Linked DNA regions of Homo sapiens: all the other regions are linked to region 3. Evidence: promoter capture Hi-C in 16 types of primary human blood cells and fetal thymus (Javierre and others, 2016). All regions are on one chromosome and are shown on one strand. Each heading gives the region's core, a stretch centred on a gene start or on the middle of the fragment in contact. The rest is flanking DNA. Distances are from core to core; before and after follow the strand shown.

What was found. The method cuts DNA at HindIII sites, captures the fragments that hold promoters and counts their contacts. A CHiCAGO score of 5 or more calls a contact.
Region 1: a contact is called between a fragment that was not itself captured here and the fragment with the promoter of DNAJC5 in region 3, in 4 of 17 cell types (monocytes, M0 macrophages, total CD4 T cells and 1 more). The highest score is 10.6, in monocytes.
Region 2: a contact is called between a fragment that was not itself captured here and the fragment with the promoter of DNAJC5 in region 3, in 1 of 17 cell types (monocytes). The highest score is 5.2, in monocytes.
Region 4: the fragment with the promoter of HELZ2 here is called in contact with the fragment with the promoter of DNAJC5 in region 3 in 3 of 17 cell types (total CD4 T cells, naive CD8 T cells and neutrophils); the score reaches 7.8 in total CD4 T cells.

Annotation. Positions count from the first base shown.
Region 1 is chr20:63,609,629-63,613,268 of GRCh38, forward strand. All of the region lies in intron 2 of GMEB2 (glucocorticoid modulatory element binding protein 2), which reads right to left. Among named protein-coding and RNA genes, the nearest start is that of GMEB2, 16 kb to the right of the region's middle. RefSeq lists an enhancer at 865-1,034. The HindIII fragment of the contact is 1,398 bases long and covers 1,222-2,619 here.
Region 2 is chr20:63,593,474-63,596,834 of GRCh38, forward strand. GMEB2 (glucocorticoid modulatory element binding protein 2) reads right to left here. Exons shown (of 10, transcript NM_012384.5): 6 at 2,137-2,294. Among named protein-coding and RNA genes, the nearest start is that of HELZ2, 21 kb to the left of the region's middle. The HindIII fragment of the contact is 6,029 bases long and covers 1-3,361 here.
Region 3 is chr20:63,893,432-63,897,038 of GRCh38, forward strand. DNAJC5 (DnaJ heat shock protein family (Hsp40) member C5) reads left to right here and starts at 1,695. Exons shown (of 5, transcript NM_025219.3): 1 at 1,695-1,892. RefSeq lists enhancers at 908-1,077, 1,010-1,537, a cis regulatory region at 993 and a silencer at 1,537-1,776. The HindIII fragment of the contact is 2,023 bases long and covers 764-2,786 here.
Region 4 is chr20:63,572,011-63,575,515 of GRCh38, forward strand. It overlaps HELZ2 (helicase with zinc finger 2), which reads right to left and starts at 2,229. Exons shown (of 20, transcript NM_001037335.2): 1 at 2,174-2,229; 2 at 98-1,211. The coding sequence starts at 375. RefSeq lists silencers at 1,574-1,633, 2,274-2,553 and an enhancer at 2,338-3,065. The HindIII fragment of the contact is 21,413 bases long and covers 1-3,505 here.

The DNA.
Region 1 (3,640 bases), core at 671-3,170, 280 kb before region 3:
TTTCTAGAAACATGCCCCTCTGACCCACCTCCATTTCTAGAAACATGCCCCTCTGACCCACCTCCATTTCTAGAAACATGCCCCTCTGACCCACACCTCCATTTCTAGAAACATGTCCCTCTGACCCCACCTCCATTTCTAGAAACATGCCCCTCTGACCCCACCTCCATTTCTAGAAACATGCCCCTCTGACCCACACCTCCATTTCTAGAAACATGCCCCTCTGACCTCACCTCCATTTCTAGAAACATGCCCCTCTGACCCACACATCCATTTCTAGAAACATGCCCCTCTGACCCCACCTCCATTTCTAGAAACATGCCCCTCTGACCCCACCTCCATTTCTAGAAACATGCCCCTCTGACTCCACCTCCATTTCTAGAAATTAATCCTGCAGACATGGTGTTCCCACACTGGCATGAGGGTTGTCTGAAACAGGGAACAAGTCTCCAGTTTCTGGAACCCGTGCGGGCAGCTGCCTCTGGGGAGATGATGTGGAGAAGCTGGGAGAGGTCTGGGTGGGGTTCCCAGCTGTGCACCTCATAACAGCCAACTGTATGATGTGTGCACTTCTAAACTTCCAGAAGTTTGCTTAAAAACACACGCACACCAGCCGGGCACGGTGGCTCACACCTGTAATCCCAGCACTTTGGGAGGCCGAGGCAGGCGGATCACAAGGTCAGGAGATCGAGACCATCCTGGCTAACACGGTGAAACCCCGTCTCTACTAAAAATACAAAAAATTAGCCGGGCGTGGTGGCGGGCGCCTGTAGGCCCAGCTACTCAGGAGGCTGAGGCAAGAGAATGGCGTGAACCCGGGAGGTGGAGGTTACAGTGAGCCGAGATCGCGCCATTGCACTCCAGTCTGGGCGACAGAGTGAGAATCTGTCTCAAAAAAAGAAAACAAAACAAAAAAAACATGTAGCAAGAGGAAGTCTCAATTTCCAGATGGTAGAAGAACAGATTTAATTCCCCACAAAAAAGAAGAGGATCTTTAAGTCCTTCAAGACAGCCCTGCCTCAGCTGCCACGTGGGGTTCTCTTCTCAGAGAAGAAGGCGCATGCAGACTCTCCACTGCTCCATAAGCCACTGTCCCGCGAGGGCAGAGCCTTGGCGTCCTGGCAAAGCAACTGCAGACTGAAAAATGCCCTCTGGTCCTTCATGGCTCCCTCCATCAAGACAGGGGGCTATTTCCCACCCCCTCCACTTGACTTTGGGCCAAGCTTTGAAGAGCTTTGACCAAGAGGCTGTGACGAGGCCCTACGAGGACTCTGGCTCTCCTCCTGCTAAGCACACCCAGGCAGGTGTCCTGGCAGATGAGGACCACATGCAGAGCCTCGGCCAGCCCACCAATGCCCGGATATGCAAGTGAGCCCAGCCTGGACCCCCCGGCGAGGCCCAGCAGCACCAGCCCAGGCCCGAAAACCTTAAGAAATGACCAGTGTCTGCTGCTTTAAGCCACCAAGCTCTGCGGTGGTTTGTTAGGCTGCAAGCATGGCTAATTCAGAAACTGCCAGAAACAAGCACTGCTGTCCCCAGCCTGGGACACACAGCACCGCCTCTGCGTGGGGAGAGGGCACAGGCTAAGGGCACAAATGCCATCCCAGACCCGGCTCTTGTGTGTGGAAGGGGCCACTGTGCCATGAGGCAGAGGAAACCTTGGCAGGACCTTATGCCACAGCAATTTAAAAGAGAAGAAACAGGCTGGGCGTGGTGGCTCATGCCTATAATCCCAGCACTTTGGGAGGCCAAGGTGGTGGATCACTTGAGGTCAGGAGTTCAAGACCAGCCTGGCCAATATGGTGAAACCCTGTCTCTACGAAAAATACAAAATTTAGGCAGGCGTGGTGGCGGGTGCCTGTAATCCCTGCTATTCAGGAGGCTGAGGCAAGAGATTTACTTGAACCCGGGAGGTGGAGGCTGCTGCAGTGAGCTGAGATCATGCCACTGCACTCCAGCCTGTGTGACGGAGTGAGACTTGGTCTCAAAAAAAAAAAAGGAAACACATCTGACTAGTGTGATCTCGCAAGGAACATTCCAGACACAGTGGAGCTAGAAGGTTCTTCTCCAAACAAGGAATCCCCAGGGGATCAAATTGTTTTGCATCGGCCAGACATGGTGGCTCAAGCCTGTAACCCCAGTGCTTCGGGAGGCTGAGGTGGGAGGACTGCTTGAGTCCAGGAGTTCAAGACTAGCTTGGGCAACACAGTGAGAGCCCATTAGCCAGGCGTGGTGGCACATGCCTGCAGTCCCAGCACTGTACTAAAAATCTACACGGGGCCGGGCATGGTGGCACATGCCTGTAGAGTCCCAGCTACTCAGGAGGCTGAGGCAGGACGATTCCTTGAACCCAGGAGGTCACGGCTGCCATGAGCCGTGACTGTGCCACTGCACTCCAGTCTGTGCAACAGAACGAGACTCTGTTTCGAAAAACAAAAAATCATTTCATGTCTCCAGTTTCTCCACTGGCAAAAGACTCTGTCAAGGTAAAAAATGGTTCTGACCCACAGAAATCTAAGAAAGGAAAAAATATAAAAAATAGAAAATTTAAAAAAGAGATGGTCTCAGAATAAAGACCAACCTGGGCTATGGTTGTCACTCTTCCCTCACACCTTAGAAAGCTTTCTGGCCGCATCTGGCCAAAGGGCCACCCTGCCCCATCTTGGATCAGTGAGGTGCCTTCGAACAAGCCACCTGCCCTGGAGCCCGTCCTGTCTTGTCTGCCACCGCACGCTCAGTAGGGGAGGGGAAGTCGCTAGGTTTTAGTTCACCAGTCTCTGGATCAAGACGTGCCATAACCAAGAAGCCCCAGCCACACCCAGACCCGACGTGGCCACAAGGGGTGAGCTGGGAAGGCCCAGGAAAAGGCGGGAGGCGGACGAATGGAAATGTCATTCTGTGGCCACAGAAATGATCTCAACGTTTTGTAACTTCCTACCAAGAGGCAGTCTTAGCTCTGCCCTTGAACCAGCACTTGGTGATGTCGCTTGCGTCAATCAAGGCAACAGAAGTGAGCAGGAGGCCCACTTTCCTCTGCAACTGTGGGCTTACGGGGCAAAGAAGTCCAGGCCTCCAGGTGGAGGATCACAGACCGGGCAAAGCAGAGGAGAGCCACCCAGCCGAGCCTACCTGTGCCTCAGACTGCCTCCCTCCAGAGACCCCTGTGGCCAAGGCCACCCAGACCAGCAGGTCCTTGCCAAGCTGTCAGCTGACGACAGGGGTTGGTGAGGCCGGCCCAGACCAGCAGAACCACGAACCAACCAACAGAATTAAAAATAATAACAACTATGTCTTGTCTTAAGCCACTAAGTTTTGGATGGTTTCTTTCTTTCTTTTTCTTTTTTTTTTTCGGAGACGCAGTCTCACTCTGTTGCCCAGGCTGGAGTGCAGTGGCGCAATCTTGGCTCACTGCAAGCTCTGCCCCCCGGATTCACGCCATTCCCCTGCCTCAGCCTCCTGAGTAACTGGGACTACAGGTGCCTGCCATTGGGTGTTTTCTTAAACAGCAAAAGAAAACTGACACAATCATAAACAGAGCAAGCAAGAGAACTTGGCAATTATTTCCTCTCTACTTCTCACTGTTCTTCAAAGAGTTAACTCAAGCATAAGATGTGAGCAAATTCTTTTAACATCCTAGAAA
Region 2 (3,361 bases), core at 150-2,649, 300 kb before region 3:
CGTCTGTCGCCCGTGGGGCTCGCCCTCACCTCGCCTCTTCAAGTGATGCTTCATTGAAGTCATCATAAATCTCAGTATCTATCATGTTTCCATTTTTCTACACCAGAACAAGTGGGGCTTTGAGAGACAGAAACCGTCCTGGCTCTTCCTGTGGGTCCCTCTCTCGCGCCTGCAGAACACAACTGGGCGTGTCGTTCATATGTGGCCATTTTGGGCGTTGCTGATAGAGACTTTATACACAGATCTGGCTTAAAAAACAAACCCGGGGCCGGATGTGGTGGCTCACGCCTGTAATCCAGGCACTTTGGGAGACTGAGGCGGGTGGATCACCTAAGGTCAGGAGTTCGAGAACAGCCTGGGCAACACGGCAAAACCCCGTCTCTACTAAAATACAAAGTCAACCGGGTGTGGCGGCGTGCGCCTGTAATCCCAGCTACTCGGGAGGCTGAGGCAGGAGAATCGCTAGAACCCGGAAGGCAGAGGTTGCAGTGAGCCGAGATCAGGCCCCTGCACTCCAGCCTGGGCGACAGAGCAGGACTCCTTCTCCAACACCACCACCAACGACCTGGAAGCAGTTGAATGTTTTGGGAATACTGGCCTTTTCCACATTCATCAAAGACATGGCAGTGGTGAGTATGACTCATATTACACATCTGGAATTATTTGGGGCGTGAATGAGTCGTTTTTCCGAGTTGGGGCTGGCACAGCATCTTTTACTAACTGCACAGTAGCCAAGTCAATGGTTCTCAGAGATTGCAGGTTAAAGAACCCAAATCATCTTCAGAAGAGCTGAGCCTCAGCCTAGCTGTGAGGCACTGACTACAGGGCGTGGAAGGCCCAGTTCCTTCCCTGGCAGGCGGTCAGGCAGGGCCAACACTAACGCGGTGGAGCCGCTGGGGAGGCCCTGGGGAGGACAGACAGGAGGCTGGGCTCTACCCAGCCCCTCTGACCACAGCAGCCCAAGTGTCCTGGGCTTCTCAGGACTCAGCACTGAACCTGCCAGGCTGCCCCAGCAGGACGTGGAAGGGGGCCCAGGAGAAGGGTGAGGCCTCCCTAGTGCCCTGGCCTCACTCTCCTACCCAGCGGGACAGGACAGGACTCAACTGGGTCCCACCTGGGCCAACAACAAGGACGTCCCTGGGCACACAGGAACACAATCTGGCCAGCAATGCGGAGTGGCAGCTTAGGGACAATGCATGTGGCATTGCTGGAAACACATCACCAAAGACCACCCAGAGATGTGACCAGGGAGCCCAGGACCTAACTTCACTTTAACTTCAGTTTTTTTGTTTTGAGATGGAATCTCACACTGTCGCCCAGGCTGGAGGGCAGTGGAGCGATCTCAGCTCACTGCAACCTCCGCCTCCTGGGTTCAAGCGATTCTCCTGCCTCAGCCTCCTGAGTAGCTGGGACTACAGGCATGCACCACCACACCCGGCTAACTTCTGTACTTTTAATAGAGACAGGGTTTCATCCTGTTGGCCAGGCTGGCCTCAAGTGATCCACCCGCCTCGGCTTCCCAAAGTGCTGGGGTTACAGGTGTGAGCCACCACACCCAGCCTAACTGTAGTTTTAAGAAAAATTTCTCTATTCATAAAGCTGGAAAGAATTCTAGGGAACAACCTCTCCACAGTTTAGAGCTACAGACACCAACGTGGAACAGTATCTAAAGCGTCACCCAAAAACCCAAGTGGCAGGAATACCTGCAGCAAGGCACCCAGCACGGAAGGCGGGAGCACAGGCGCGCAGTTCCGTAAACCGCCAGGTCAGGAGGGAAGCGGGTCCAGATTTGGGGCTGGGCCGTGGGGGTGGGAGGGAGGGGGCCGGGTGGGCGCCCAGGCACTCTCTGTTACTCGCTATACCCTTCCCCACACGTGAGTTATTATATTACAACCAAAATGGCTTAAAAAGAAAAGTGCTTCAATCTTCCTTGTCAATGAAAGCAGCAATTCTGCCAGATCTCCTCTGTGAGGCAGGAGGAGGCTGATCCCAGACAACTCAGGGTCCCAGGCAGGAGACCGGCAGTCCTGGCGTGAGCAAACGCCTGGGGCCAAGGAGGCCACCCAGGGGCATGTCACCCTCTGTGGCCATGGCCAGGGTGGGGCTGGGTCAGGACGAGCAGCCCTGTGCACCTACCGTCGGCTGCGGCGGGCGTGAGGGGAATGTACTCGGCCGACGTGGGGCTGCTCAGGGACACACGGGCTCCTGAGAGGTCAATCTTTGTGCTGCGGCAGGTGTTGGAGCAGACCTTGTCATGCTGGTAGAAGTCCAGTTCCCCGGAGTCCATGATCTTCCTGTGACAGACAGTGGCATGGAGCGTCCAGGTCGGCCCCAGAGCCGAAGGCACCTGGCCCGCCCACCCTGACCTGGGCCATCCACCTGCGTGGGGCAGGCCTAGCAGAGGCGCTGGCAGCTCCACAGGGCAGGGTGGGCTCTACTTCCCTCTTAGCGCGAGCTCGGCGTGCAGGACCCTGCTGCTGAAGAAGCAGCCGGCCCAGGCCCACGCTACGGCACTGTCCCCAGGAAGGGGGCAAGCGCTGGCCAGTGGGTGTCCTGGAGGTGCCCGTCAGAGTCTGTGGGGCTGGGCCTTTCTGGGATGTCCCACTACCCCAGCCCCAAGGGAGTGACCCACAGCTAACAAAGGTGGGCCCAGTCCACCTGCATCATGCGTGACTCATTCTGAAGCAGAGGAAGGTGGGAAATCACTTCCAGGAGAACCTTCCTCCTTCTAAAGGCACAGAGACAGCCAAGAAGAGTGATGAGGGCGCAGGACAGCACCAACGGCCATGGCTGCCGCTCATCCTCATCTTTACCAGGAAGGCTTCGTACGGCCCAAACTGCTGAGAGCCGCCCTCCCAGGGCCCTCTCTTCTGCCTCTCCGGAGGTCCAGGGTCTCAGTCCTGTGTGTCTCAACGAGCCTGCCTCGACCCATGAAACGAGGGTCAGAGGCTCCAGCCTCATTCAATCTTTGGGCAGCACTGACCTCAGGCACACACAGGCTAATGCTTCTGTGGTCAGCTCAGGACTTGCCTACCTGGCCGGTGGTCCCCACAGCTGTGCCACCAGCCACGTTCCAGAAAATCAGAGGCCAGTTCAGCTGGACAGGGAAAGGACCTGAGCCATGGGAAAGGACCCAGGGCTAGTCACTCGTGAGGTCTCAAACTCTGACTCCAGCACAAAGCAGGGGCCCTCCTTGGGAAGCAAGGTAGAGGCCAGGCCCACAAAGACTGAGACTGAGGCTTATGATTCACAGATAAGTGAAGGCCGGGCACGGTGGCTCATGCCTGGAATCCCAGCACTTTGGGAGGCTGAGGCAGGTCAATCACCTGAGGTCAAGTGTTCGAGACCAGCCTGGACAATA
Region 3 (3,607 bases), core at 445-2,944:
TCTTTTTTTCTTCTTTTTAAATAAGAGATGGGGTCTTGCTCTGTCACCCAGGCAGGAATGCAGTGGCACAATCATGGCTCACTACAGCCTTGACTTCCCACCCGATCCAGCCTCCTGAGTAGCTGGGACTACAGGGGCATGCATGCCACTGTGGCCGGGCCAATTAAAAAAATTTTTTTTTATAGAGATGGTGGTCTCACTATGTTGTCCAGGCAGGTCTCAAACTCCTGGGCTCCAGTGATCTTCCTGCCTTGGTCTACCAAAGTGCTGAGATTCCAGGCGTGAGCCATGGGTCCCGTTGTATACATTTCAGTAACTATATTATTCCATTTGAGTGCTCACTTGTGCAGTTGGGCAGGTTTCCATTCTCGCTATTAAAAATAGTGCCTTCATGAATATTTCAGTGCATATACCTTTTTCTGTATTTAGGAATATTTTCTTTGGAAGAATGTCCCTAAAGTGGAACTGCTAGGTCTCAGAGGGACTCACTTAAGGCTGGTTCATTCATTCTTGCAGCTCCCAGCACAAGTGGAATATAGCTTCAATCTGAGATCGGTACCAGGCCCATTTCATTCTCTCATCCCTCCAATTCTGGCCTGAAATATTTCATTCTCTTGGAATCTATAGTTGTAGATATGAACCTGGCCTTTCTGCTTCTTGGGTTCCATAGGCCTTTTCTTGCTGCCTGCTTGATGTTGCGCAGCTTAATGACTGCTAGGAGGCTTCCCAAGCTCTGACACTTCCAGGCTGTGAGACTGGAACAAGCTTGGCAATTCAAGACCGGCATTATGGCAGTGAGTTATGAGGGCAGAGGAAGGAGGCCAGAGCGTGTTGAGAGAGAATTTGGGTTTCACGCAGTGTGTCACGGGAAGCCTTGGATGCTACTGGGTTTGTTTTAAAAAGATGACCGCACTGAACTCAGGTAAACGGGCAAGGGTGGAAGCGAGGAGGCAGGAGCACCGGCCGCAGAGGTCTGGGAGCTTCTAGGATGGGAAGTGGCCCAGGCAGCCTACGCGGGGCAGGCCGTCAGTGAGTGGCGGAGCGCCTGCAGTTACAGGGACAGGGAAGGGTGGCCGACGGGATGGGCAAGGGCAGAGGGAGGTGGAGTGGACGTTCGTGGTCCTGCCTCTCCACGCTGCTGTTTGGAGATGATTCCGGGAGGGTGGGAGGGCGCTGGCGACGGCATTTCAGTGGTTGGACAGGAAGGAAGGAAGGACGTCCCATCTCGGCGCTCCAGGGTTGAGCAAATGTCAGTCCCAGGACGGTGGCTCCGGGTGGGGGCGGGGGCGACGGTCCGCAGCCGTCTCCCACCAGCTCCCTGTTCAGTTCTTTGATGAGAACGATTACGTTTTCTCAGTCTTACTTAAAGCGCTGAGTAAACTCACCTGCAAGACCAGCAAGCCCTGCGCTTCTCTTTCTGCGCGGTTCCCCGCAGCACATGGCGTGTCCACCCGGGACCCACCTGCGGCCACCTGAAGACTGGGAGGACTGGCTCCGCCCCCGCGCTTCGTCCCCGCCCACTCATGGGCGGAGCCTCCACAGGGCGCCTCGGCCCCGGGCTGTCACTCGGGACTCCGCCCCTTCATGGACGGAGCCTCCGCTCGGCTCTCTGAGCGCATGCGCAGCCGGTCCCACCCGCGGCTCCGACACGCCGGAGCCCACGTCCTTCCGGGAGCGCGCGCGCCGGTGCGGGTGCGTGCGTGAGCGTGCTCGTCTCCGCTGCCGCTGCCGCTGCCGCTGCCGGTGCCGCACCCGCGCCCTCTGCCGCCGCCGCCGCCGCCGCCCGGGGTCTCCAGGCTGAGGAGTGCGTCGGCCGCTGCCCAGCAGCGCCGCGAATCGGGGAGCGGAGCCGCGGAGCCGGCGGGAGGGCGGGCGGGCGGGCGGACGGGCAGGTGAGCTCGCTGCGGGTCGGGCGGGCGGATCGGCCCACGTCAGGCCCGGGCAGGCGGGCGGGCGGGCGCGGGTGGGGGGCGGGGGCGGCACTCCAGAGCCGGAAATGGCGGCGACCCCCGGGCCGGGGCTGCGCGGGCGCTCGGGGCCGGAGCTGCTGCGACGCCGCGGCCTGGGCCGGGGCGGGGGCGCGGGAAGGTCGGCGCCGGGGCCTGCGGGAGCCGGGCCGGGCCGGGCCGGGGGTCTGAGCACCGTGGTGGGGGCTGGGGCGGCGCTCTCCGCGGGTCTCTTCGGGCCCGGACGCCCCCTCCGCTCCCCCAGGTCCCCGCGGCCGCCCCCAACCCCCCGGGGTCTCCTCTCCTGCGGGGGGACTGGAGAAGCTGGGCCATCGCTGGTCTTAGGGAGGCAGATAATTTAGTCCCTGGGTCGTTGTGTTTATAGCTCGGGGAATTGAAAATTGTTCTGTAACGCATCGTAAATTAATCTTTCCGACGTTGTAAATTCCAAAAAGCATTTGGTTTGTTAGAAAAAACCTGTTTTCTCCGCTTTATAAAAACATTTGAAGCCATGCTTTATATTGAACTCTTAAGGAGAGTATTAGGAACTCGTCCGTTCAGGTTCTAACTTGTTGGTGTTAAGTGTCTGGATTAAAGACTCTCTTTTTCGTGTGCCGAAGCCATGATTTCTCAAATTCATTCAGTTGTGTCATACAGGAAAAGGAAGCAAAAATTTCAGCTTTATTTTTGTTTTCCGGCTTAGGCTTGGTTGGGAAGATTTGATGGTGGTTAGACACGTCTGCCCTTATTTGCCTGTTTAGAAAAACCTATTCTAATGACAAAAACAGTTACATTGCTCCCACTATTGTCATGGTTACCTGAAGGCAAAAGTTTACTCAAAGCTTCTGAGATTTTATGTTCGTTTATTTGCTTCTCTTTTTAAAAAAATGTCAGCTGAGTTTCAGGAATGAGTAGTCTGTCAAACAAGAGATGAAATTAGAAGCCTGGATCTAAGGGCTTTGGGGAAGTTTCGGTTGAGTTCCCCTTTCACTTGTGTCGGTGCTGTAGGACTCGGGGTGGCTCCAGCTGGCGTCTGGCCCAGCAGAGAGCTGTAGGGGCCCGCTCTGGTTGCTGGCTGTGTGGACTCTGAGGGACACCCCTGGCGAGGGTGTTAATGAGCCTGCAGCGTCTGAGTCCACCCACCCTCAGACTGGCCCCTGACTCACTCTGCACCTGCCATATCAGCCTCCTTGCTAGTTCTGAACAGAGCCACATGCTCTGTCCTTGGATCTTCCTGGAATGCCTGGTTCCTTAACCCCCTAGCCTGGCGACTGCCTGCCTGCCTTGCCACCCAGTTCCCTTCCTCGCTTAATTTTCCCACAGCGCTGAATCCTCCTAGTGTCCTGCTTAATGCATTTATCATACTTAATATTTTACTGTGAGTTAGTAAGGTCCGTGGAGAGAATGTTTTGTGAAAAAAACAGTTGCTGGCACATGATCGGGGCCCAGTAAATATTTGTTCAGTGAATGAACGTGAGGAGCTTAGCAGCAGCTGTGCGTGGTGCTGGCCTTGTCACCCGGAAGTCCTTGTCGGTGAGGACTGAGCATGTAGAGGTAAGGGTTCCTGGAGTGTTGGCCCTCAGGACAGAGAGCCACCATCTCTCACCTGCCCAATGAGGAAAGACAGCCAGGTAAGGGGTGGCTTGGAAGGGTGCATGGGA
Region 4 (3,505 bases), core at 979-3,478, 320 kb before region 3:
GGTGGGCTCCTGCCCCACTCCAAGCTCCTGGGAACCTCTGGTTCTGCCTATGGTGGGCTCCTGCCCTACTCCAAGCTCCTGCCTCGAGTATCCTTACTTTGGGCAGAGCTCGAACTTGGAGAGTCCCGGGGGTGGGGAACGGTGCTCCCAGGGCAGGGCCTGGTCGAAGGCCACCATCTGTGCGTGCTCCGAGGATGCGCAGTGGTTCTCGAAGGCCTCCTGAGAGTGGCAGGTGACCAAGCAGGCCGGGCAGTACAGCTGGGCCCCAGGGGGCTGGCCAAGGGGGGCCGTGCGCCCGTCGCCATCAGGGGCAGGGGGTGTGAGCAGGTCCCCCCGCTGGAGGCCACCCAGCTGCTCGGCCTCCCACACAGCCATCTCCACGGCGCTGTGTGCAAACTGGCAGCGGGACTCCCCACGCCAGCACGGCTGCCCACGCCCCACAAACCTGCAGTAGGCAGGAGGCTGGCCGGCCCGGGGCCGCGGCCTCACCACCACAAACTGTTGCTTGCGGCGGCCCTCGGCGCTCACGTGGGCCAGGAGGGAGGGGCAGGCTCCGTGCTCAGGGCACTGCCCCTGGGGGTCCACGCGACAGATGCATGGGGGACAGCGCCTGAAGCAGAGGGAGCAAAGCAGCTCGAAGCGGCCGCCAAACTCCGTAAGGATGGCGTCGGCCGCCCGGCCTGCCCCTCCCTGGGCCCCGCTGCCCTGCACCTCCGCCTTCAGCCATAGGCGCTGGAGGTTGTGCTGACGCTCGAAGGTCCAGACCAGGGCCTCCTCGCGACTGCGGGCAAAGGTGCACCGGTTTCGGTGGCGCCGGCAGCCGAGCCCAGGGCTGTAGTAGTGGCAGACTTGGTAGCACAGGGGCCTTGGGAAGGTGGGCCGGCAGCCCACCACGCGCCAGACCTTGCTCTTGGTGGCCTGCTTAAAGCGGGCCAGCAGGATCTCGCGGGAGCAGTCATGCTCCACCCTACGGAGGACGTAGGTGCTTTCATTGAGCCGCTGGGTGCAGCGGGAGCAGCCCAGACACAGGTCCACCAGGGCACACAGCCGGGCCAGGGACGGCCCTCTGGTGGCCGCGGGGCTGTTGGGCAGCAGGGTGGACCCTGGAGGCGCCACCTCGAACACCAGCTTGGCTCTCCAGGGAGGCGTCTGAGGCTCCTGAGCTCACGGGTCCACGCAGTCCACTGGAACTGTTGGCCACGGTTCGAAGCCTGCGACAGAAGGAGCAGGTGAGACTGAGGCCAGAGGACATCTGGTCCAGGCCCAGCTCAGAAGCACGGCCTCTCCACCAGGCAAGGAGCTGGGGATCTGCCTATCCTGATGCCCAAGCAGAGGCCTCTCCACCAAGCAAGGAGTTGGGACTCTCCCCACCCTGACGCCCAAGTGGAGGCCTTGGCAGTAGCTGTGTCCTGTCAGGGAGTACAGGGCTCACTGACCCGGACACAGCCAGACCCTCCCTCCTGAAGGGTCTCAGGCCCCACCTAGAAGGAGCCAAGGTGACTGCTTGTGGAGCCCTGGAGGGGGCAGAGCCCTTGGCACAGTGCCGCCCCCAGGAGGCCGCACCCCTCTGCCCCAGCCAGGGGTCCTGTGCACCCCAGGGCCTCAGGCTCCTGACTCTTCTAAGGACACAGCACCTCCTTTTCTATTGAATGACCACTGGCCCCCAGGAAAAGAGGACTCCACATCTGCACCTGGGGAGGGGCCTCACGGAGAGGAGGGTACAGTGCCCACCAGAGCTCAGGGTGCCAGGAAGAGATGGGTCCCCGGGTCCCCACCGCAGCTGGGATGCTACAAGAAGAGTAAGTTTAAAAGCAACAGACTGGAGGCAGACTTCAGTATGAGAACCCGGCACTCCCCGCGGACCCCTCTGAGAAAACATCCGAGTCTGCCATCCAGAAAGGACGGGAGCCGAGACCCCAAAATCCTGCGCTCCAGTGGGTGCAGAGACCACAGCGCTGGGTCTTGCTGCGGAGGGTGCTGGTCCTGGACGGGCTGCACTGCCCCGGGCTGGGTCTGTGGCTCCCGGGACTCCGCGCCCCCGGCTGCACTCACCCTCCCGGACCCCCCCCTCCGCCCCCGGCCCCGCCACCCTGGGACCCCCGCGCTCACCCTCCTGGAGCCGCCCCTGGACCCCCGCGCCCCCGCCCCTCCGCCCTGGGACCCCCGCGCTCACCCTCCTGGAGCTGCCTGCCCTGCCGAGCCTGCCCAGGAGCTCTCAGTTTCGATTCTGGCCCGGGCACTGACGCTGATCGCGGAAATTACCTCACCGCCCCCCGCCCCGCCCCGCCCTGCCCCGCCTCCAGCGACAGCTCGGCCCCCGCTGCGAGGGAACCTCGGGAAGCGCCAGCGAGCAGAGGACGCCCCTCCCTGAAGGGCCAGCGCCGTCGAAGGCGGAGGCGGCTGGGGGTGGGGGTCCTTTCCCGCACCCCTCCAGGGCCCCACGCCCCGTCCAGCCCTTCACACACCAGAGACGCCCCGATGATGTGCCAGGCGGAAGGGGTGAGACCCTGCCCGGCCCTGGACGGCAGGATGGTCTGGTGACTCCACCATCAGCCCCTGGAGAAATCCAGGCACAGCTGACCTGGAAGCCTGGGTCCCCTGACAGGCAGGACCTGCCCGTGGCCCTGGTGCTGCTGGGACCCCAAGTCCCTTCTGTCACCAACCAGGATATGGCAGGAATGGCTAAGTGGCCGCCGGGTCCCAGAGTCAGCACGCCTGGCTCTTGGCTCTCTGGACTGGCTCTGGGCCCTCAGCAGCCCTGTGGGGAGGCCCCATAGAGGAGCTGAGGCCTCCAGCCCACTTGCAGCTCGAGTCCCAGCCCCAGCCTTACTGCCATCTCAGGGAGACCCCAGGCCTAACCCTCCCACCTAGACCACGCCCAGCTGTTAGATGTCTATGTTTAAAATAAACGTCCCATTAGCCAGGGGTGGGGGCGGGCGCCTGTAGTCCCAGTTACTCGGGAGGCTGAGGCAGAAGCATTGCTTGAACCAAGGAAGTGGAGGTTGCAGTGCGCCAAGATTGCGCCACTGCACTCCAGCCTGGGCAACAGAGCAAGACTCCATCTCAAAACAAATAAATAAATAAAATAAACATCTGTGTTGTTTTAAGCCCCTGAGCTTTGGGGCGATCTGTTCTGCAGCAGTAGATAACGGACAGTGATGCTGCCCCTGAAACAAGGAAGCAAGGCTGCCACCCAAGGCCAGCACCTCGTGGGGAGGGCCAGGCTGGGGGCTCACAGCGACCTCGGGAGGTCGGCTGGGTGGGCCGTCAACCACCAGGGAGCCTCTCCGCAGACCAATCACGTTGGAGCTCCTGGGAGAGGGCAGGCCCTCGACAATAGCAGCCCCAGGGGCCGGGCGCTGAGCAGGGTCCATGTGCGTGGAACGCTGGGAGAATTTGTGTGGAACGCTGTGTTCCTGGATGGAGAGGCTCAACACCACACAAAGACGTGAGTTCCTCCTAAACTAACCTGCAGTCGCATGGTGGACACACTGACTTTCAAGTC